Linked DNA regions of Homo sapiens: all the other regions are linked to region 4. The links are contacts of gene promoters, found by promoter capture Hi-C in blood cells and fetal thymus (Javierre and others, 2016). All regions are on one chromosome and are shown on one strand. Each heading gives the region's core, a stretch centred on a gene start or on the middle of the fragment in contact. The rest is flanking DNA. Distances are from core to core; before and after follow the strand shown. Region 1 overlaps ANTXR2 (ANTXR cell adhesion molecule 2). Region 2 has its middle 17 kb from the start of ANTXR2. Region 3 has its middle 39 kb from the start of ANTXR2. Region 4 holds the start of PAQR3 (progestin and adipoQ receptor family member 3). Region 5 has its middle 46 kb from the start of PRDM8-AS1. Region 6 holds the start of CNOT6L (CCR4-NOT transcription complex subunit 6 like). Region 7 has its middle 58 kb from the start of ANTXR2.

Region 1 (3,068 bases), core at 91-2,590, 1.1 Mb after region 4:
AATTACAGACTTCAGCCACTATGCCCAGGCTTGGCTAATTTTTTAATGTATGAAATTAGCACTTTCAGCTCTATTTGTATCTCCCTAATTTCTTTGCTGAGAAGGGCAGGGAAGGGAAGGAGAGGGGAGAAGAGGAGAGGAGTGAGGAAGGGAAGGGAAAATAGCCACCACAACTGCCATGCACTGTGCCATATCAGTAGCTTTTCTCTGAAACACTTTGGATGTGGAAGGTATGCAAGGCATTATAACTAAAATAAAGATAGACTGAAATCATGGTGTCATAAAACAGTCTGCAGGGAATCCTGAATTGACCAACTAACAATGAAGGCATAATTTTATTTTCAGTATCTCCTACTTTTTCTTTCTACGATGTGTCTGTACAGTACTTGAACTTTCCAATGCACATTGTCTTAACTTTCCAGATTTCAAAGCTCTTTCAGGATTTCAGTCAATGAGTCTACACTCATCTGTTGAGCATCTGTTGTATGTGAACACCGTGATTCTACACAGTGATGTGAGAATTCCTCACACTCAGTCCAGGGGTCACTCACATAAAGCTCTATATATGCACTGTGGTTCTCCACCCTGGCTGTACACTGGAATCATTTGAGGGGATTTTCAAAAGCTCTTCTGGACTCTATTTGAAGAGATTCTAATTCACATGTTTGTGTTGGGTCAGGGTTATCACTGGCCTTTGAAAACTCCCCAGAGTATTCTAATGCGCTGCCAGGATTAAGAACCTCTGATCTAACCTAATTTTAAAACTTTCTTGTGTTATTGGAATGCGTTTTGAATTACCTATTTTGCCAGTCATTGCTTCTGTATGAGAGTTTTGGGTAAATAGGATAATCTCTTAAACCATAAATAGTTTCTGGGATGGTATGGATGAAGATGTGCATGAGCTTATAGACAGAATAGAGATTAGTTCCAAGCTCAACCTTGTTTCTTCATTTATAAAATAGGAATATAAATATCTCCCCCATGGGGCCACTGTAAGGATTCATTACAGTATATTATTATAAATGTCCTATTTTGTTATTAGTTATGGTTGTTAATCTCTTACTGTGCCTAAATTATAAATTAAGTTTTATCATAGGTATGTATGTATAGAAAAAAATAGTATATATAGGGTTTGGCACTACCTGTTGTTTCAGTCATCAACTGGGGTTCTTGGAACAGATCTCCTTCAGATAAGGGGAGTCTAGTGTACCCCAAAATTAGTGGTTATCAGCAAAATTGATTGTTTCTCATGGCACTGTGCATTGAATGAGCAGTTCTCATGCTTCACATGCTGCCAGTTGAGCCACTGGAATGGCTAGAAGCGGAATGCCTTCACATGGTTAGCAAGTCGGTGCCAGCGCTGATACTGGCTGTTGCCTAGGAGTTCAGCTAAGACTGTTAACCAGAGTCTCGATTCTCCTCCACATGGCTAGGTTGGGCTTCTTCCTAGCATGGTGGTCTCAGAGTAGTCAAAGTTTTCATATGACAGATGGTTTCCAAGAAAACAATAGAGGAAACTACCATGCCTTAATAAATCTTAGGCCTGGAACTCAAACTGGCAGTTTCATGTTCATGTCTGCTGCATTCTATTGACTGAAGTAAATAAATCGTAGGCCTAGACCCAGATTTTAAAAAGTAAAAAGTGTGTGTGTGCCTCTGTGTGTGTGTGTGTGTGTGTGTGTATTCTATGCTTCATTGGAAGCCACCAAAGAAATAATCTACCACTAAAACAAAAAGCCTCACACACTCATGTTGTCAAATGCCAATTTATATAATTGCAGGAATACTATAGGTATTTATATCATAAGTAAATTATTTTCTTTACTCTCAATAGATTATTAGCCACAGACTTAATCTGCTTGAAATAAACAGTAATTCCAAAACAAAATGTAGCAATACATAAGGATTTTATGATAATTAGCCAATTACACAGCATCCTGAAATGTTTCTTTTAGGGTAAAATTTAATAGATTGAGTAGAATATGAAACGAAAATGTTCTCAAGATGTTATTTATGACTATACAAAATTGCTAATGATTTATAATTCACTTAGAATTCACTTAGAATTGTACTTTACCTGAGCTATTGCATATGAAGAATTTAGTAAAATATGTAATATATAGTAACTGCTCAGTAAACTTTGATACTTTTATTGTCTCCTTCCATTAATAAACCACAAAATTAACCTGAGTAAGAAAAATAGAAAAAAACTGTATGAAGAGAAATATGTTCATTCATATATACCTGCTCTACTTAACTGTGTTACTATATACTACTGCCCTACATACTGCTTAACGGATGAACCTCTAACAAGTAATTTGTTCTCACCAAGTTCCTCAATTTAAAAATTGTTTAAAGGTTTCAAATGAGTGAAAGATTTTTTCTAAAGACACACATTGCTATTGCTAATACATTCTAAAATCTTGGGAACTAATGGGTTTTAGCTGTATCTTACTATAGTCTATGTAAAATATGCTTATTGTTTATTTAACATGTCATTCTAATGCCAACATAGGCCAAGGCTTCTGTGGTCCAGAGTCCAGACCAGCAAATCCAAGGTAGCAGTCATAGATCCAGAAATATCTGCTCACAAAATACCCTGTACAATCTGAATTTTGTCAAAAATATTCTCCAATTTGGCCTGCACCTACCAAAATGTGGTACTCAATTCACACCTGAAGTTCAGGCCTGCTGCGTTTTGCATACTTTTACTCCATTTTCCCACTCACTGCCTTACTAAATCATGAAAAATCAACCCCTGCATTTTACCACTTCCGTGTGCCAGGTCTGTCTCCCAGGCATGAGTAACAATGTACTTAATTTTCTAGAACATGCTCATAAAACAGATGTGGGACTTCAGCGAAAGTGACTGCTAACATGTCCATCACTAAAATCTGAGTTGCTGCCCTGCCTGGACCCCTCAGGTTTAGCACAATGTGTGGCCAAAACAGACTTTTCAAAACAGGAGTAAATACTTGCCTAATGGAATTTTTTTTAGCTAACCCAACTATTGTCTCATCTTTTCACCCCCTCACTGGTTTTTAAGAATAGAATAAATTTAGGGAATG
Region 2 (2,969 bases), core at 108-2,607, 1.2 Mb after region 4:
CTATCCCAGTTTTCTTGGGAAGTTCTTTGCAAGGAGCAGTAGGAAAGTTGTCAATCCCCAAATGGCCAATGGGTTTCATATGTAGCAAATTTGGCTGGCAAAAATACCAACGCAAGTTCAACAATACTGGACCACAAGTGCCTGAGGATATTTTTTAAAGATTAGTAAATCAGGGGTTTGCTTTTGACCCTGATCTTTATACAGAGTTAACACTTCTTCATCAAACAAAAGTGTCTTTAATTTGAAGAAACTCATTTTTACAAATTTTAAAAATTTATTAATCATTTAATGCCTGCTCTCTGCAAAGCACTGATCTGTGCTTTTTGGAATATGCAAAGTCTAGCAAGTGAGATATCCTAGTTGGATCTTCTAGTTACTGAGCTAAGCTACATTTAAAAATAACCATAATACAAAGACTGAAATGATGTGATGGAATGCAATACGAATTCTGAAGAGGGAGAAACCACTTACACTTGGAGAAATAAGGGTTTATGAAGGACAGGGAATTTAATGTGCATCTTGAAGGATGGGTCATGTTTTTAAGATTATCACAGGTGAAGGGAAGAAAACACCCTAGAAAGAAAAAGCATAACCAGTTTCTAGCTGAGGATGGGAGTTGAAAGGCTGACATCATTACTTGAGATAGGGAAAAAGGCACCCATATTTTTTTAAAAAGGTGCACCCCTTTAATTACCTTCTCACCTCTCTCATAGTATTACCTGTATCAAAGTCTTACTATTGTTTTAATCATGTATTTTATTATGCTTTTTCCTGTATATCGCCATCATACACTTAACAAGCAGCATGACAACATATTACCTTAAAGTTAATGTAAAGACACCTCTTATGTAAACTATACTTGGAGAAACACCAGTCTTCCTATATCCTCCCCCAGCCGCATCCCAGGGAACAGAAGCATAGAGCAGTGAATGTACAGAGTACCTAATGAACACAAAAAGAACCTGAATTTCAGTGGAGCCCTGAGTATGTGAAGGGTGAAATAGAAAATAAAACTGACAGACCTGGGTAAGGCCCAATCTGTAGGAGCCTGTAGGTCAATGCTGCCTGCTATCTGTTTTTGAAAGAAAAAAAAATGTTTATTGGACATAGCCATGCCCATTTGTTCATATACGGTCTGTGACCACTTTTGTGCTACAGTAGCAGAGCTAGATAGTTGAGGCAGAGACCATGTGGCCCACAAGCCTAAAATATTTACTATGTGGCCTTTAATTTTAAAAGTTTACCAAAGTCTACCTTAGCTAAAAACGTTTTAGTGTGCAAACATTTTTGTGTAGACAAAATAGATACAGTAATAAATTTAAATGGCAGAGGGGTTTGAGCAGAGCTGTTCTTTTAGAAGAATCATCAGGTTGCTGTGGCAAGACAAATTAGAGGTGAAAGATGAGGAAGAGCTGAAAGCACTTAAAATTATTTTTTAAACATGTAAAATTTACTATTATTGTATTGCTTTTTATTTTGTGCTCAGTGAAATATGAAAACCTGGAAGGATCCAAAAATTGTACATTTAAAAGCAGAATCACAAGAATGACACTGAGGGTGGGAAGGCAAGGGAATTTCCATGCCTCAGAGAAGTGTGTGTAGTCTGAAGGTCAGCTGTGCCTGGAAAAGCAGCAGAGACTGGGCGGTGGTTGTACATGAGACAGTGGATGGGAAGGTTGAGACAGAAGAGCCCTGGGGGAATCTCACTGTTGGAACAGTGTCCCACAAGGTCATGACAGTAGATAATGAGCCTGCCACTTCTAAACCAAAGTTTTCAATTCAATCCATAGGGTTTACCCACAAGAAAGAAAGAAATTTGATTTTAGTAACAGATGCCAATGTGAACTAGATAAATACTAAAGGAAACATATTACTAAGCTAAAAGGGTCCCATGGAAACTACAGAGGGGGTCATAAAGGACTTGTGGATGAGACTGGAGTCTAATGCAAGACCCCACACCTGACACTGAGAGGACATTTCCTGGAGATGATATGCTGGGAAAATTCCTCAAAAGATGTCTTTCACAAGAAGGGCCCTTGGTTTATGAAGAGTATGACTGGGAGAACAAGATTTACTTTCCAAAAATGCTACTTACAAGCTAGTTTTTTGGGATGTCTCAGTTCCATACAGTACAATATCCGTATTGCTTATGCTGATCATATTCCCATCTCCTCTCTGTCCAAAAGATTTTGCTCTCATGTTAACCACAATTAGACTAAGAAAAGGCTGAAAATGACTATAATAATTATTTTGAAATTATAGTAAACTTTTTGATTGATAATCTAATGAAATAATATAGAGAAATAAAATGCAATGCATGGTCCAACCAACCAGCTGTTGTTTTCGAAATTCTGACCTTGAAAATTTGTATTTTAAAGGTGTTCATTAATGATTTCTCGTTTGTGGTACAAATATTAAATATAAACTCAAGGAGCCAAGTAGACCCAAGCATCAATATGTAGAGTCTATTGCAGATAAATTCAATGTACCTTGAAGTGAGCAGTTTAAAACTCATTGAATTTCTGATCTTTGAATTAATGCCTTTTTTGCTCATACATGATATAGTACGAGAAGAATCATGTGGCAGTCAAAACTATTAGCTAACCAACTTGATATTTTCACCATTCATCATTTCCTTGACACTTCTATCGAAATGGTTTTCCACCCTGAATTAACAGTCAAAACAGAGGACTTCACATAGAATTTTAAACTGCATTCATGTTAGATGGTATCATAACACAATACCAAACTCATGAGATCAAACAAATAATTTATCTTTTCCCTGATGCAGACTTAAGATGTGTATCATCCCTTGTAACTGGTAATATTTTTACACAAGTAACTTGTAGGACATAAAGTACATTGACATTTTTTATACATAACTCTATGCTGGGATTTAAACTGAAAGCTTGTTCCATCGGGAAACAAGGCAAAAATTGTTTTTAAGTCTTCTTGCTGTGGCTTAGTAA
Region 3 (2,919 bases), core at 318-2,817, 1.2 Mb after region 4:
AATGCGTAAAAGAAAGAATTGAGAAGCTGGACTTCAGTAGAATAAAATAATTTCTGCTCTGTGAAAGACACTGTCGAGAGTATAAAAAGAAAAGCCAGAAACTGGAATTTGCGAAAGGCAAATCTGATAAAAGACTGTTATCCAAAATATATAAAGAACTCTTAAAAATCAACAATAAGAGATCACTCAATTACAGAATGAACCAAAGGCTTGAACAGACACCTCACCAAAGAAGACATATAGATGGCAAATAAACATGTGAAGGAACATCCACTCCACATCATCTCATCAGAAAAATCCAAATAAAAACAACTGTGAGATACCATTATGCATCTATTAGAATGACCAAAATCCAGAACACTGACACTACCAAATGCTGGCAAGAATGTGGAGAAACAGGAATTCTACTTCATTGCTGGGGGGAATGCAAAATGTTGTAACCACTGTGGAAGACAGGCAGTTTCTTACAAAACTAACATGCTCTTACCATACAACCCAGCAATCACACTTCTTGGTATTTTCCCAAAGCAGTTGAAAACTTATACTTACACAAAAACCTGTAAGAGATGGTTACAGCAGCTTTATATATAATTGTCAAAACTTGGAAGCAACCAAGATGTCCTTCAATAGGAAAACTGCCAAATAAATTGTGGTACACCAAGCGAATGGAATTCTACCGAGCACTCAAAAAGAATTGAACTATCAAGTCATGAAAAGATATGGAGGAAACTTAAATGCATATTACTAAGTGAAAGAAGCCAATCTAAAAAGTCTGCTTACTGTATGATTCCAACTATATGACATTTTGGGAAAGGAAAAACTATGGAGACAGTAAAAAGATCAGTGGTTTCCAGGGGTTAGGAAGGATGAATAGGCAGAGCACAGAGGACCTGTAAGGCAGTGAGAATATTCTGCATGACACTATAACGGTAGATACATGTCATTACACATTTGTCCAAACCCGTACAACTTACTACAACAAGTATGAATCTAAATGTAAACTGTAGGGAATAATGATGTGCCAATGTGCGTTCATGAAATGTAACAAATATACTACTCTGGTGGGGGATGTTGATAGCGGGGAAGGCTATGGATGTGTGGAGGCAGGATATACATGAAAACTCTCTGTACCTTCCTTTCAATTTTGCTATGAATCTAAAACTGCTCTAAAAAGTCTTTAAATTAATTAATTAATTTAATTTAATACAAAAGGGTAAAATTTTAAACCAAATCTAACTTCACATGCCTGTAATCCTAGCACTTTGGAAGGCCAAGGCTGGAATATTTCTTAAGGCCAGGAGTTTGACATCACTCTGGGCAACATGACAAAAATTCATCTCTACCAAAAAGAAAAAAAAATTAGGCGTGGTCGCACGCCTGTAGTCCTAGCTACTCTCAGGAGGCTGAGGTGGGAGGATCCCTTGAGCCCAGAAGTTTGAGCTTACTGTGAGCCATGATTGGGCCACCACACTCCAGCCTGGACCACAGATGGAGTCTCTCTCTCTAAAAAAAATTAAAATGAAAGTAAATAAATAAACCTAACTATAGCCAGCTGTGTTAGATTCTCTGGAAACAAAGAATCTAAAAAAAATAAAAAAAGTTTAAAGCTCTACGACAATCATATTTTTTAATGATTTATAAATAAAATGAGGTATTTTAGAATTACTTCATTGGGAAAATTTCTTCCCAAGTCTTTTAGACTTAGACAAAATGAAGACAAATAACCTGTTACAAGTCCAAGGATGGTGAAGTACTCAGAAAAGCCTATTTCCAAAGCGTGTATTGAATAGGTTCACTTTTCTCCATCCTCGCAGCCACTCCATCATGGTCCAAGCCACTATTATCTCTCCCTTGGAAAATTAAATGGTTTTCTATCTAGTTTCTCCTTTTCCACTCTTGGCATTCTTTAACGCACATTTTACATAGCAGCTAAACTGATATTATAAAACCACAAACCTGATAATGATACTTCCCTGTCTACAGGGAAGCGCTTTTAGTGGCTTTCTACTGCCCTTAGGATGAAATCCAGATTCTTAGCATGATGGCCCCTGCCCACACCCCCAGCCATCTTGGGTTATTCTCCCCTCATGTTTTATGCTCCAGGCATATCAGCGTTCTTCCCACTCTTTCCTTCCTTGAGGTCTTTAAACATAATATCCAATTCTTCCTGGAGTGTTCTTTCCCCCACCCATAACCTGGCTAATTCTTAAACATCAATTCTTCAGAGTTGACTTCCATTTCCTCTTCCCCCACAAATCTAGGTGAAGTCTGTTGGTTTGGGTTCTCTGGAAACCAGATTCTGAGATGGAATTAGGAGTGTGGATTGTTTTTGAGGGGCAACGCCTGAACAGGAAAGCTGAGAAAACAAGACTGAGCAAGAGAGAGCTTCAGACGATGATGCTGAAGACACATTCCCTGCCAGACCAGCCAAAAGACCTGGAGCAAAGATTGTACATTGCAAGGGTCTCACATTGGATAGCAATGGCTAATCCCTTACACTACTGCCTTTTTCAGCCACTGACTAGAGTCACCTCTTCAAAGCAGAAGCTAATCCTTATGAAGCTAAAAGCTGAAGATTACCAGCTAGCCACCCGCCTTGGGTCTTGGCGGGAAGTTCTTTCTTTTTTATTTTATAATTTTTTAGAAAATACAGATGGGTTTTTGCTATGTTGACCAGGCTGGTCTTAAACTCCTGACCTCAAGTGATTCTCTTATCTCAGCATCCCAAAGTGTTGGGATTTCAGGCATGAGTCACCACAACTGGCCAGCAAATTATTTCTTTATTTTAAAATTTTTTGAGGTAAAACATCCATATAAAATGCACCATATTTGCCATTTTTAAGTGTACAGTTCAGTGGTGCTCTTAAAACAGTCTTTAAATGTAAGAATACATTTATATTCTTTCCTTTTCCCTTCATC
Region 4 (3,148 bases), core at 2-2,501:
CGACCTGGAGCTAACCAACACCTGTATCTTAATTCTCCTGAAGCAGAGGTCCTGTATTTTAGTACAGGTAGTAAGTTTGGACAGTTACTCCAAGAACTAGAATAGTTATTTTTCAGTTTTGTTTTTTTAAAACACGGATTTTCAAGGGACTGTGGTTTTAAAGGTTTAAAATGATAAAGAAATTTCTTTCTTAGAGATGCTTCTGTGGTGCTCTAGTGGAGACTGGGTGCCCGTTATGAGCTCTCTTTACCACAGTACTTTTCCTACACAGCATTTTTTCCACAATGGTTATTATGTAATTGTGTAATTATCTATTTAATGTCTGTTACCCAGGCTACACCTTAGTAGCTTCATGAAAACAAGGGCCATGTTTGCTTTTTTTTCTGCATGGGCTCCATAAGTATTTGCCAAATGAATAAATCTCGGGTGTATATGTTAACTTGTTTCCTATTATACAGGCACTTATCTGGCCCAAAGCTACTGAATTCCCACAGTGTTGCTCTAAAAAGAAAGGTATACACCGGGCAAATATGGCTCAGCCCCATTTCAATATATATCTCAATGAGCCGAACAAACCGAATAAAGGATGTAAAAGCCCTTTGTAAAGAGCAAAGCGTCATAGGAGAGCTGTAATTATGATCACTGTTACTATCATGATTATTCCGTGGACCAAGTACCCCGGCCAGGTAAGGGGAGATAACGGGGGAGGAGAGGCGGCAAAAAGGGATGAAAAGGATGGGGCGGCGAGGAAATGATGGGCAAGCAGAAAGGCGGGGAAAGCAGAAGGGGGACCAGACAAAAAGGGTGTAGGTGAGAGAAGGGGGCACTCCAGGCGGAGGCAGCCAGACCGTACCTTTTGATACACAGCCTGGACGGCAGGTAGGCCCGGTAGCCGTCGGTGATGTACGGGTTGTCCTTGAGGGACCCGGGGATCTGCTCGTAGGTGTACAGGCGGATGCCACGGGGCACCAGGACCGGCCAGTACTGGTAGCTGCCCAGCTCGATGTAATGCGCGCTCTTCAGCAGCTTCTGATGCATCGTTCCCGGCCGCCGCCGCTCCCCGGCTCGGGAGCTCCCCCAGGTCCCGCCTCCCCGGGGAGGGGGCTTCGCCGCTGGCGCCCCCGCCCCGGAGCCCGCGGACGCTGCGCGAGGTCCTACCGCGCTGCCGCTGCTGCCCAGGGCCCGGCTCTGCGCTCACACCGGCCACTGCCGCCAGCGCCGCGGCGGACCCGGCAGCGTCGCAGCCTCCTCTGACGTCAGCGCGCCGCGGCGGCCCCGCCCCTCAGCCCTAGCTGGGAGGGGCAGGGTGCTGGGGCGCGCCCGGGTGTGCTCGAGCGTGCGCTGGCGGCGGCCCGGGCTCCCGGGCGTCTCTCACGCTGTGTTTTGGCGGCGCCTGGGGTCTTCGTTTGCATATGAGAAGAGCCGAAAGCACAGAGCTACAGGCGAATACAAGTGGATTTTTTTTCTTTTTCTGTTTTTTTATTAGAAGTAATAGTTGCTGCATTTTGAAAAATCAAGAGGAAAAGAGTTAACAGGAAGAAAAGTTCGAGGTAATTACCGTTTAGTTTATGCTTGGAATTACACACACTTAGTGTCAGAAGGGACTTTGAGGATTTCTAAGCTGAAGTCAGCTCTTAGCACGATAATTGGAAAGAGAGGAAACCTGATGCACGTGGAACATACACCAGCATCGAGCACATCCTGAGCCATAAAGGAAAGCCCCCGTGCATTCAAAACTCCGACCCCTTTCAGCGTTATGTTCTCTGATCACAGTAGAATTAAACTAGAGTAACAAGAAAACTAAAAGTCTCCACGTCTGGAATAGGAGCAATACACCAAATATTTCAAGGGCTGATGAAGAAATCACAATGGAAATGAGAATATCTACTTAACTGAATAATATAGAACATATTAAAAAATCCTGTGGAGTGCGGCTATAGTAGCGTTTACAGGAAGTGTTGCAGCTTTGTTTCTGGCTATTTACTGTAATGCAAGTGTTTACTTATAATGGCAACAGGGCAAAACATCAGTTTGAGTACCGTATGTGTATAATAGAACGCTTAGTCCATTGTTTGGCATTGTAAGGGCAAGAAAAATATCTTGTCCTCACTTATCACAAGGTTCACAGCTGACATTCCTATGAAAAAAATTAAGAGAAGCCAGGCGCAGGTGGCTCATGCCTGTAATCCCAACATTTTGGAAGGCCGAGGCAGGCGGATTGCTTATGCCCAGGAGTTGGAGACCAGCCTGGGTAACATAGTGAGACGCTGTCGCTACAAAAAAAACCAACCAAACAAACAAAAAACAAAAATTAGTCGGGTGTGGTGATGGGCGCCTGTAGTCCCAAACTATTCTGGGCTGAAGTGAGAGGGTTGCTTGAGCCTGGGAGGTCGAGGCTGCAGTGAGCCATGTTTGTGCCACTGCACTCCAGTCTGGGTGACAAAGCGAGACTTTGTCTCAAAAAATAAATAATAAAAATTAACAAGAAAAGGGATAATAAATTCATTTAACACAGTTTTATGTGACAGAGGAGTCTTCAGAAATGAAGACACAAAGACCCAGGAAAAAATGGGCTTTTTATGCTAAGTCTGATGAAAGGAGTGGATAGTTGTGGAGAAACATGATTGAAAGGGGGCATCATCTAATGATAATAAACTGAGGGGGGATCCTAGCTAGCAAGGCCAGTTCATTCAAATTCTTGGCCTCAGAGTATGGGGCAGGAACTCTCTAGAATGAGGGTTTTATGACCTAGTTTCAGGTGAGGTAAGTCAGAACTCCTTTGTGACCACGGAAAGGCAGGGACAGTCAGAAAGTAACCTTACTAGATTTTTTGTTGTTGTTGTTGTTGGGGGAAGACAGAGTCTCACTCTGAAGCCCAGGCTGGAGTGCAGTGGCACAATCTCGGGTCACGCAATCTCCACCTCCCGGGTACAAGCAATTCTCCTGCCTCATCCTCCCGAGTAGCTGGGACTACAGGCACCCACCACCATGCCCGGCTAATTTTTGTACTTTTCGTAGAGATGGGGTTTCACCATGTTGGACAGGCTGCCCTTGAACTCCTGACCTCAAACAATATGCCTGCCTCAGCCTCCCAAAGTGCTGAGATTACAGGCGTGAGCCACCACGCCCGGCCCCTTACTAGGTTTTA
Region 5 (3,225 bases), core at 464-2,963, 1.2 Mb after region 4:
CATTTCTATTCCTAATTTTGAGTGTTTGTTCTTAATGAAGGTCTCCAAAATTCTATAAGCTTCAGGTCCCATAAAACCTGGATGCTCTCTAGACATAAATGTTAAGGTCTACTTAAAGAATGTCTTATTGTGTACCACTGAAATATGAAGCACACTTAGGAGATAATTAAATTTATTAATGCAACAGTCCATGTGCTTCCTTCCAACAGAATAGTTCTGAATTATCAATGAGATCATTGATGGGAAAGCACTCTGAAAAGTATGAAGTGCTGTATCAATGCAAACTATTATCTTTATTATCCTTTTAAATACAACCAGCTGAAGTTCTCAACATTTGTTTGATAATTCTTTAGTGATCTTCCACTAAGTGCATGGCACTTCAGGGGCTGTGGAGGGTATAAAGATGAAATACATCCAATACTTGCCTTCAGGGAGTTCATTGTTTCCAGGATGAAAATACTGTACTGAACACAGAATTAAAAGAGAAACTCTATGTCAGTGAATTTCAAACTTTTTTTATTACAATTCACATTTTAAAGTGGAGACCATGGCCCAATAAAAACATATACATGCACACTTACAAACACACATATTCATATACCCACTAAAATTTCACAAAAATATTACATTTACTATATACTATACTACTTTTCTGTAGTTTTCTATTCTATTTTACTTCAATCTTTAAAATGCTGATCACAACTTTTTAAATAGATTTTATAACCTCCTAATCAATCACAACCTACCATTTGAGAAATACTGTTCTATATGATAATTTTGTCCTGCTGAGTATATGGACTTAAAAATCCATGAACATAAACTCAATGAAAATCTCCATTAGCTCTAATAAAATTTGAAGTCCACTGGGTGAAAAACTAAAGACATTGAAGTCCTACAGACCCCTTTGCCAATTATTCATATATATTTTATTAGATCAGAGACATCAGCTGTCCTTCTATATACATACATACACACATATGTGAGAGCACACACACATATGCTCTCACACGCCTTCTCTCCCTGTATCTATATGTTAAATTTGATTGCTTTTGCACAGTGACAACTGCAGTGAAAGCTCCCTGCAGGGAATCACAGGAGTCTGAGTGAAAGGGTTATTTTAGTGGTTCTTCACTATTCAAGAATTACACTGAGGCACAAGAGCTTTCTGACAGGACTTGGCAAGCTTTGCATTGTAGTCAAGATTGTTTATTCTGTTGGCAGATTTGTCATAAAGGGGTTTGGTTCTTTTCTAAAGTATGTTGTGGAAATATGTATTTATAAGTATTCCATAAAATATTTTATATTTATTTTATAGAATGGATATATAGAAATGCTTTCTTAAGTCCTTATTGGCAACATTTGTACGTGAGCTTTTATGTATGTGCCATTATAATGGTAAACATTTACTTAGAAAATGCATCATGTTGATGGAATAATGCTGAGATCCTACCTCCTCACCACAGAACTTACTTGCATTTAAAATTTACTTCCCATCATCAACTCTAAGTGTGTTCAGAAGATGATTCACAAGAAAAGATACAGTCACAATAAAAAGAAAATGTGGTTTAAAATAAAATATTAATAATTTTGTATTCTAGTTGATAAACAAAATGTTTACGCAATGTATTTCTCTCTTTGCATATGAATGAGCGACGATACCATTGCCCTTCTTTGTATTTTGCTCTTCATCAGAATTCACCAGAAAATTCACTCCCTTTGGCCATTTCAAGCATGGGCAAAACTAGGCTGGAGTAAGGGCTGTGACCCAACAACTTTGGGGCATCCAAGAAACGTCCCTGGTATAACTCCTGGAGTCATCATGCACAATAACTTGTGCTAGTTGCTTATAAACCCTCAGCTGGTTTAGCCGTGCTACAGTGCCATGGAGACTAGCTACAGAAACATTTAGTGAGGTGGTCATCAGGAGGTGAATAGGATGAAGGGATAAGGAGGTGGGGGAAATTAGAAATATATGATAACCTGTTGTTGATTGAACAATAATTTTCTTGCTGTTAAATTAGTAATACTGCACTTCCCAGTCTCCAAAATCTCTATTTTTTCAGTTCATCGGCCAAGTTCATTTTTGCTGTAGCCCACTGTTTCCATAAGTTCTGTTTTTCTGTGTCCTAGTCTTTCCGACATGACTCTTTCAGATCTTCTAAGTCTGCTAAATGCTGTTTCTTCTAATTGAAATGTTTTCCCTTACTCTCCAAAACAAAAGGCTCCTATTTATCTCTCAAGATCAAGCTTAGATATGTGTCCCTCTGTGAAGCCTCTTCTGACCAAGTCCAGTAGAACGAATCACTCTTTTTCTCATACCATGATTCAAATGAGTCTTGCATAGTATTTCGGTCTTTTCTTCCTCTTCTACTAGATTACAAGCTTCTTGAGAGTTGAATCTGTGTTATGTTTTTATTCTATCCTCAGTGCCTCCTATAGAAGCTGGTTCTAGGGTACTGAATTGATTTGTTGATTAATTAATCTATTGATTATTGCGTCTGTCTTGGGTTCTCTGCTGTTCTTGAGACCCCTACTTTATTCTGAAGCACTTTTTTCTATTCTTTCTGAATTTTCAAAAATGTATTTATTAGTTCATGAGAGCAGCTTGTACCTATTTTGAAGTCTGTCTTCTTTACCAAAAATTTAAGCTGTATCATGACCCAGTCTCACTTGAGAATTGTTACCATCAATGGTGGATGATACCACTCTCTGGAGTATGTCTGTATTACTTTGTTTCTTTCTAATGATCAGAGATAAGCTATTTTGAAAGCTTTTCTCGCAACTATTACTTTTTTTTCTTACTGAAAGATTTTGCAATTAGAACAGATAATCTAAAACGACATGGGTTTATAAATAAAATCAGGACAGCAATTTGTTACTGTTTCTGCTGAATTTGAGAATGCTTTCCCCTCTAATCCAGCCATGTTCTCTGTCTGAAGATGAAAAATTTTAATTGTCAATAGTCCCTAAGTTGTCATCATGATTTCTCAGTAATTGCTAATTCTCTGCAGGTTTTTTCCTATCTACTATACCTGGGAGAAAAGTATTCTTCACTTATTATTACTTATTATTTTTTCCAGGCAGCATTTGGAAGTATTCCACCTGTGATGAAACTCAATTGTAACTTCCTTTTGTCTTGCCTAGAATTCAGAGACACGATTTTTTCCTATTTTATGTGTGGATTTAAAGGTATCAAAAGACTAATACGATATAATTTCAAAACAA
Region 6 (2,782 bases), core at 46-2,545, 1.1 Mb before region 4:
AGGTTGCTTGATCTAGTTTTTGGAGACTGAGGAAAACATGTTTGTTGAGCCTATCTTGATTGACAAGATAACTAGAGGCAATACGGTAAAATGTAACACTGTGCTTCCAATGTGTACAAACGGCTCAGCTAAACTCCCTGAACACAATCCACCTAAACAGTCTAAGCTCAATAGCCGACCGAGTTAAGCAGGATGACAGCTCCAGTAACTTCCTCTTCCTCACCCAGCTCCTCAGCTCGGCGGCGCGTACACGCCTCTCCCCCTAGGAGGCAGGATAAAACAATTTCAAATGCACAAAATCCATCCAATCCCACAGGCCAGGAAAGCCAGTTTCCCTTTCTTCCTCAGCCCTTCCAAGAAAATGTTTGTCTAATTAAAAAAAAAAAAATCTTACCAACGGCAAAGTATTTGCAACAAAAATCCAAAATATTTACTCAGTCCCTCCACACAGCCTTAGGGGAAGGATGAAAAGAAGGGAACACGACACCGCGTATTCCCAAGACTGACTGTTCTGATTCACTTTCCTCCCTCGGGTCCCACAGCCGGCCGGGCGAAGGCTTGCAGTTGGAACGCCAAAATAAGCCTTCGCCTCTCAGGAGACGCGGAGGCGGCCACGGCGACGGCAATCGGCGAGTCCCGCCTCCGACCCTCACCTGCCCAGGCCCGAGGCAGCGCCGTGGGCTCGCGCGGGCTCGCCGTCCCGGGAGGCGTCCGGGGAGGTGGGCGGGCGCCCAGGCAGTTAGGCCGCGCTGCAGGCCGGCGCGCTTCCTGCCGCGGCCGGGGAACGGCGGCCCCGGGATCAGCGGCGCGGCACCGACCAGCAGCTCTCCCAGCCCCGCTGCCGCGCGTGTGCCGCACTCACTCAGCCCTCCCCGGCCGGCCCCCTAGGAGCAGCTCTCACCTGCGAGGCTCGGGAGCCGCAGCCACAAAGCGGGAGGGACACGCCACTCTGGGGTCCCGGCCCCGGGCCACCCCCGACACACACACACACACACACACACACCCCGGAACCTTCGCCCGCCTCTGAAGAGACGCGGGTCAGCCCCGCCGCCCCCTCCAGTCACCCGACACACACCCACTCGCCGTGGGTCCTCGGGCCGCCTCCCCGCCCGCCAAAGTCCCAACTCGCACACCCACACGCACATTTGTCCCTCTCCCACCTCATTTCCCCGGGGACGCGCTCCTCTTCCCAACACTCTCGGTCCTACTCGGAGGCAAAAGAACACTCTACCTCATTCTCTTCCTCTGGCCCAGAAGCAACAGCAGCCATTTCCCCGCGGCAGGGGAAACACACACACAAACACGCGCGCGCGCGCGCACCAGGCCCCCACAGATGCTTCCCCTCCAGAGCCGCGGCCGCAGACGCAGACGCAAACACAAACACCCACGGCGGGCCTCGCTCCCGCCCGCCCCGAGGGGAAGCCGCGGCGGCACACAGGGCCCGTAACCGGGGCTCGCGGGCGGGCGCGCAGGGAACCCGGGCCCGGGGTCTCGGGGGGCCCGCGCCCCCTCCTCACCTGCATTCAGCGCGCCGGGGTCCGGGCGGCGGCGGCGGCGGCGGCGACGGGGCGGCTGGTGCTGGTGCTGCGGCGGCGGGGGAGGCGGCGGCGGCGGTGGCGGCGGGGCTGAGGGCAGCAAAGACATGCAGGCAGCCCGCCGGAGGGGAGAGGCACCGGCCGGAGGGGATGCGGGGCGGGCGGGCCGGGCCGGGCCGCCTGACGAACGGCAGAGGCGGCGGCGCGGAAGGCGGCTGAAGGGAGCGAGGAGACAGACCGGGGGTCGGGAAGGGGGACGAGGGCCGCGCCGCCGGGCTTCGAGGACAGTGACCCCAGGCGCGCAAGAGAGGCCCCGCGGCCGCGGCCGCCGGCGCGAAGGCCCCAGCCGAAGGAAGCTGCGCCCCCGCAGGGCCGGAGCCGCGGCTACTGCTCCGAGAGCCACGCAGAGCCTGGCCTTGGCCTTGGCCTCCTGGTGCTGGGGCTGCCGCCGCTGCGGGGGTTGCCGCTGCGCCGGGTGCTGCTGGGGCCGAGGTTGAACAGAGACGCCAGCTTTCGGTGCCTTCGCTCCCGCTCACACACGTTCACACCCCCGAGGGCCGGGGGAGAGGCGTCCGGGCGATATCGGTATTGAGATTAATAACAAGGTGCAGAGAGTGCGAGAACGAGGAGGGTTGATTGACGTGGAGGGGCTGGCGGGAGTCAGTCACTCCCCGGCGCGGAGGGTTGGGGTGAGGGGAAGGAGGCGGGGCGGTGACGGGGCGGAGCTCCTACGCAGCGCCTTGGCCCCGCCCCCCGTGCGCCGCGTTTTGTCGCGGTGAGCGCGCGGAGGCCCGGGCTTCTTAATGGTTTTCTGTTTTGCTCTGGCTGTTTTCTCACTCTTTTTTCCTGGCCTGAGCGAGGAGCGGGGCTGAGAAGAGTGGTAGAGTTTCAGAAACCCACATCCACAGAGCCTTGGCGAAGAGACGGGAAACCGCCTCACCCCGGGTTCTTGTGTGGGCGCTGTTTACTGCACCCTCCTCGCCCGAGGCGACCTGACAGCGAAGCAGAGCGTAGGTCTAGGTGGCTGAGACGCCAGGGGAGGTGAAGTGACCGAAGGAAATGTTTCCTGACATATTCGGTGGATTTTTTTTAAAAACATATAGCATCTGTAAGTTGTATCGTCAAAGGTAAATAAAAGAACCTGTGACGCTCAGCGATAACCCGGTCCTATTTTCTAATTCTCCCTTCTCGTTGTAGACTTTAGTTTGTTGTTTGTAGCTTATCCATGCCATCTACAGAATGAAAAC
Region 7 (3,122 bases), core at 338-2,837, 1.2 Mb after region 4:
TTATTTCCTTTTCACTGTTATCTGATACTATCATTTTATAGTAGTTGGAGCAGAAAAGGAAAATTGGTCTCGAGGAAATGGAAGACAATGTTTATGATATTATAGTAAAAGAAATGAAATACAGTTTACAGACCCTGTTTTTGCCACTAATCATGCCTTTGCCAATTAAAAAATGAAAACAATGGTGTTTTACACGTAGTACTTTCCACTAACTTTTCACACATATAACCTCTTATAATCTTCTCAATGATCTTGAGAAGACTTATTCTCTAAGATTAACCTCTTGAAATATCTTAGGGCTAAATTTCCTGACCTATGAACAAAACGTCTAAAATCTTGAGGAAAGAATGTTTATAGCAAGATAGCCTTTTTCAAGCCTAGTAACTGTGTTAACGTTTTTTTTTTCTTCTCTCCCTAGAAGAAGTGTGAAGCTCAGGCAACGAAAGTAAGATTTTCTAAAATGCACTTTTTATTGTTTTTCTATAAATTATTTACTTATTTCTCAAGTTTGTTCTAATTGAAAAGTTAACTTTGCTAATTCAAGGTGGCTCAGTCCCTTTCAGATATATCTGAATCTGTTTTGGTTTAAAACTCTGTTTCATGTTTTTCCTCTTTCTCCTCCCCTTAAGGATAATCTAAATTCTAGGAGTCTTACTTTTTGTCTCCAGGATCAGAACTGGAATGTCTATAAGGTATGACATCATCCTCCATCCACACTGGCCAAAGTTGAGTGTTTTGTTCATTCAGGCTTTGGGTACCATTCTGTCCCTTGATGCTTGCCCTGGCTTGGACAGTGTATCCTGTCATACACCAGCCTACATTTAGCCCTTGCTTCTAGAGTACCTGGGGGCTCTGAGAGGTTGTCTTTGGACCTATGATCAGACACCTCCTTCAGTAATGGTCCATTGTCACTCAGGCATGATATTGGACTTGGGACGTCTTTTACTTTGCAGTTTGGGAGCTGCACCCTCTGAAGCTCCATCTGCTATGGATCCCCATACACTTAGCCAGGCTTTCTTTTGTCCTCCCTATGAGGTTTACACTACACACAATGGAAGTAAGCAGGAACTTTTCTGGCACCCATTAAAGCCCTAGTAGGGCCTTCTCAGATTTTTCTTTTGCCACCAGCTGATCAGACTTTCATCTCCTTTAAGTGACCAAAAAAGACCCTGATCCTATATCATCCTGCATTTTTGTCAACTCTATGATGCACAGGATAAATTACATATCCTGTGTCCTCTTGATGTTCAAAATCTACCTCTTGAAATTTTAAGGAAAAATATATTGTCTCTCAAGAAGGCTCATGTAAATCAAAAGCACTGGCTTTTCGACCGCTAACAGTTTCTGGTGTAGAGTAGTAATAGTCTATTTAGTCTACTCTTAGAGTCAGTAATATATAATGATTAGGCACTTGGTTTCAAGGGCCAGAATGCCCAGGTTCAAATCTCAGTGTAAATGTATACTAGCTATTTGACGTTACATAAATCAACCTGTATAGTTTCTTCGTCTGGAAAAAAGAGCATAATAAAGTTTCTGTCTCAAAGGGTTGTTGTGATTAAATAAGCTAAGCACTTAGTACAGTGTCTGGAATATATATAGTGTTTAGGACTGTATGTGGCATATAGTAAGCAGTTTTTTTACTATTAAAATTATCAAAATTATTGTTACTTCAGAACTGAAATAGTCAAGAATTTGACTTAGGTCTTGCTGAGATCTCTTGTGTTTCTCATCTTAAGGCAATAGTCTGCAACCTAAATAGGGAAATATTTAAAGATATAATTCTGCTATAAAGAATTAAATCTAGTAGCTTTCTAACTACTGTGTACCAACCACTTAGACTGTATTGAACACAAACAAGTTGTTATGATGGCTAAAATGGACCCAGTAAAGAATAGCAGTTTACACCTTTTTCAAGTGTATTTAGATTTATCTAAATTTAGATTCAATAAATCTAAAAATAATATCTCATAATTGTATGTACTCTGTGAGGCCTTTCTTGATGAGTACCCTCTGCCTTCCCATAGATTCGCAATACTCCTCCTCCACCATCCCCATATAAAACTAAATGTGATTTCTCTACTTTGAAGTCTCATAACTCTGTTTCTATCTCTTATGTGTACTTTCACTAAATATCAATTACTGTAATTTTTATACTTGTTCACTCTCCCAATTTGGATTGCTGGCAACAATTCCTTTTTCTTTACTGACAGTGTCTGCTGTAATGCTTCATACTAAGAAGGTTACAAATAAATGCTGTTGAAACATCTCTATGAAATGAAGCTAAGTAGTAAACTAAGTAGTAAAGTAAAAATTATAAGAAACACTGAATGAGATAAATGCAATGAATCATAGTAGTTAACAGTATAGACTTTATGTAAAGCTGCAACAGGTTTCAATCCTAGCTCTGTTATGCTGTGACCTTGTACAAAAGTCTGCACAGTCTTTTCATCTTAAGCTGGGGACATTTAAAATCATATGACAGGATAGTTGTGTGAGTTAAGATTATGTGCAAAGTACTCAGCACAGCATTTGGCATATGGTAGCCATCAATTAATAGTAGCTATTAAGCCTGAGGAGGTGATACCAAAAACTTTGTATGTACCTCAGAGTTTTGGCTATATGGGTATTCTGATTAAAACTATTCAATTAGAAAGTTAGAGCCTGTAGTAGGCTGAAAAATGGCCCACTAATATATCCACATCCTAATCCGCAGAACCTGTGACTATTACCTTATGTGCCAAAAGGGACTTTGTAGATGTGATTTAAGTTAAGGATCTTGAGATAAGGGAATGTCCTGGATTATCTTGGCAGGCTTAAGGTAATCACAGGGATTCTTCCCCAAAAGAAGGAGTTCGGAGATTAAAGAGAGAGTAGGAAATGTGAAGACAGAAGCAACATGCTGTAGTGATCGTGAGCCAAGACATGCAGGTAGCCATTAGAAACTTAAAAAGACAAGAAAATGGATTCTCTCCTCAGAGCCTCCATAAGGAGCAAGCCCTAAGATTAATTTTGTACTTCTGACTTTCAGGACTGTAAGATAATTAATACCAGTTGTTTAAAAGCACTAAATTTATGGTAATTTGTCATAATGGCAACAAGAAAATGAATCCAGAGATTATGAA

The links. The method cuts DNA at HindIII sites, captures the fragments that hold promoters and counts their contacts. A CHiCAGO score of 5 or more calls a contact.
Region 1: a contact is called between a fragment that was not itself captured here and the fragment with the promoter of PAQR3 in region 4, in 2 of 17 cell types (monocytes and M2 macrophages). The highest score is 9.9, in monocytes.
Region 2: a contact is called between a fragment that was not itself captured here and the fragment with the promoter of PAQR3 in region 4, in 1 of 17 cell types (total CD8 T cells). The highest score is 5.7, in total CD8 T cells.
Region 3: a contact is called between a fragment that was not itself captured here and the fragment with the promoter of PAQR3 in region 4, in 1 of 17 cell types (monocytes). The highest score is 6.7, in monocytes.
Region 5: a fragment that was not itself captured here is called in contact with the fragment with the promoter of PAQR3 in region 4 in 4 of 17 cell types (M0 macrophages, monocytes, M2 macrophages and 1 more); the score reaches 6.2 in M0 macrophages.
Region 6: a contact is called between the fragment with the promoter of CNOT6L here and the fragment with the promoter of PAQR3 in region 4, in 4 of 17 cell types (naive B cells, fetal thymus, monocytes and 1 more). The highest score is 8.2, in naive B cells.
Region 7: a fragment that was not itself captured here is called in contact with the fragment with the promoter of PAQR3 in region 4 in 2 of 17 cell types (monocytes and naive CD8 T cells); the score reaches 6.8 in monocytes.

What each region holds. Positions count from the first base shown.
Region 1 is chr4:80,059,628-80,062,695 of GRCh38, forward strand. All of the region lies in intron 3 of ANTXR2 (ANTXR cell adhesion molecule 2), which reads right to left. Among named protein-coding and RNA genes, the nearest start is that of ANTXR2, 12 kb to the right of the region's middle. The HindIII fragment of the contact is 6,040 bases long and covers 1-3,068 here.
Region 2 is chr4:80,088,652-80,091,620 of GRCh38, forward strand. No RefSeq gene overlaps it. Among named protein-coding and RNA genes, the nearest start is that of ANTXR2, 17 kb to the left of the region's middle. The HindIII fragment of the contact is 3,097 bases long and covers 1-2,906 here.
Region 3 is chr4:80,111,067-80,113,985 of GRCh38, forward strand. No RefSeq gene overlaps it. Among named protein-coding and RNA genes, the nearest start is that of ANTXR2, 39 kb to the left of the region's middle. The HindIII fragment of the contact is 4,380 bases long and covers 1-2,919 here.
Region 4 is chr4:78,938,187-78,941,334 of GRCh38, forward strand. PAQR3 (progestin and adipoQ receptor family member 3) reads right to left here and starts at 1,252. Exons shown (of 6, transcript NM_001040202.2): 1 at 854-1,252. The coding sequence starts at 1,038. RefSeq lists silencers at 782-851, 942-1,431. The HindIII fragment of the contact is 16,646 bases long and covers 1-3,148 here.
Region 5 is chr4:80,149,892-80,153,116 of GRCh38, forward strand. No RefSeq gene overlaps it. Among named protein-coding and RNA genes, the nearest start is that of PRDM8-AS1, 46 kb to the right of the region's middle. The HindIII fragment of the contact is 1,064 bases long and covers 1,182-2,245 here.
Region 6 is chr4:77,818,073-77,820,854 of GRCh38, forward strand. CNOT6L (CCR4-NOT transcription complex subunit 6 like) reads right to left here and starts at 1,296. Exons shown (of 12, transcript NM_144571.3): 1 at 1,232-1,296. The coding sequence starts at 1,236. RefSeq lists silencers at 593-992, 1,073-1,142, 1,633-1,732, 1,773-1,932, 2,193-2,342. The HindIII fragment of the contact is 6,822 bases long and covers 1-2,782 here.
Region 7 is chr4:80,129,279-80,132,400 of GRCh38, forward strand. No RefSeq gene overlaps it. Among named protein-coding and RNA genes, the nearest start is that of ANTXR2, 58 kb to the left of the region's middle. The HindIII fragment of the contact is 6,253 bases long and covers 1-3,122 here.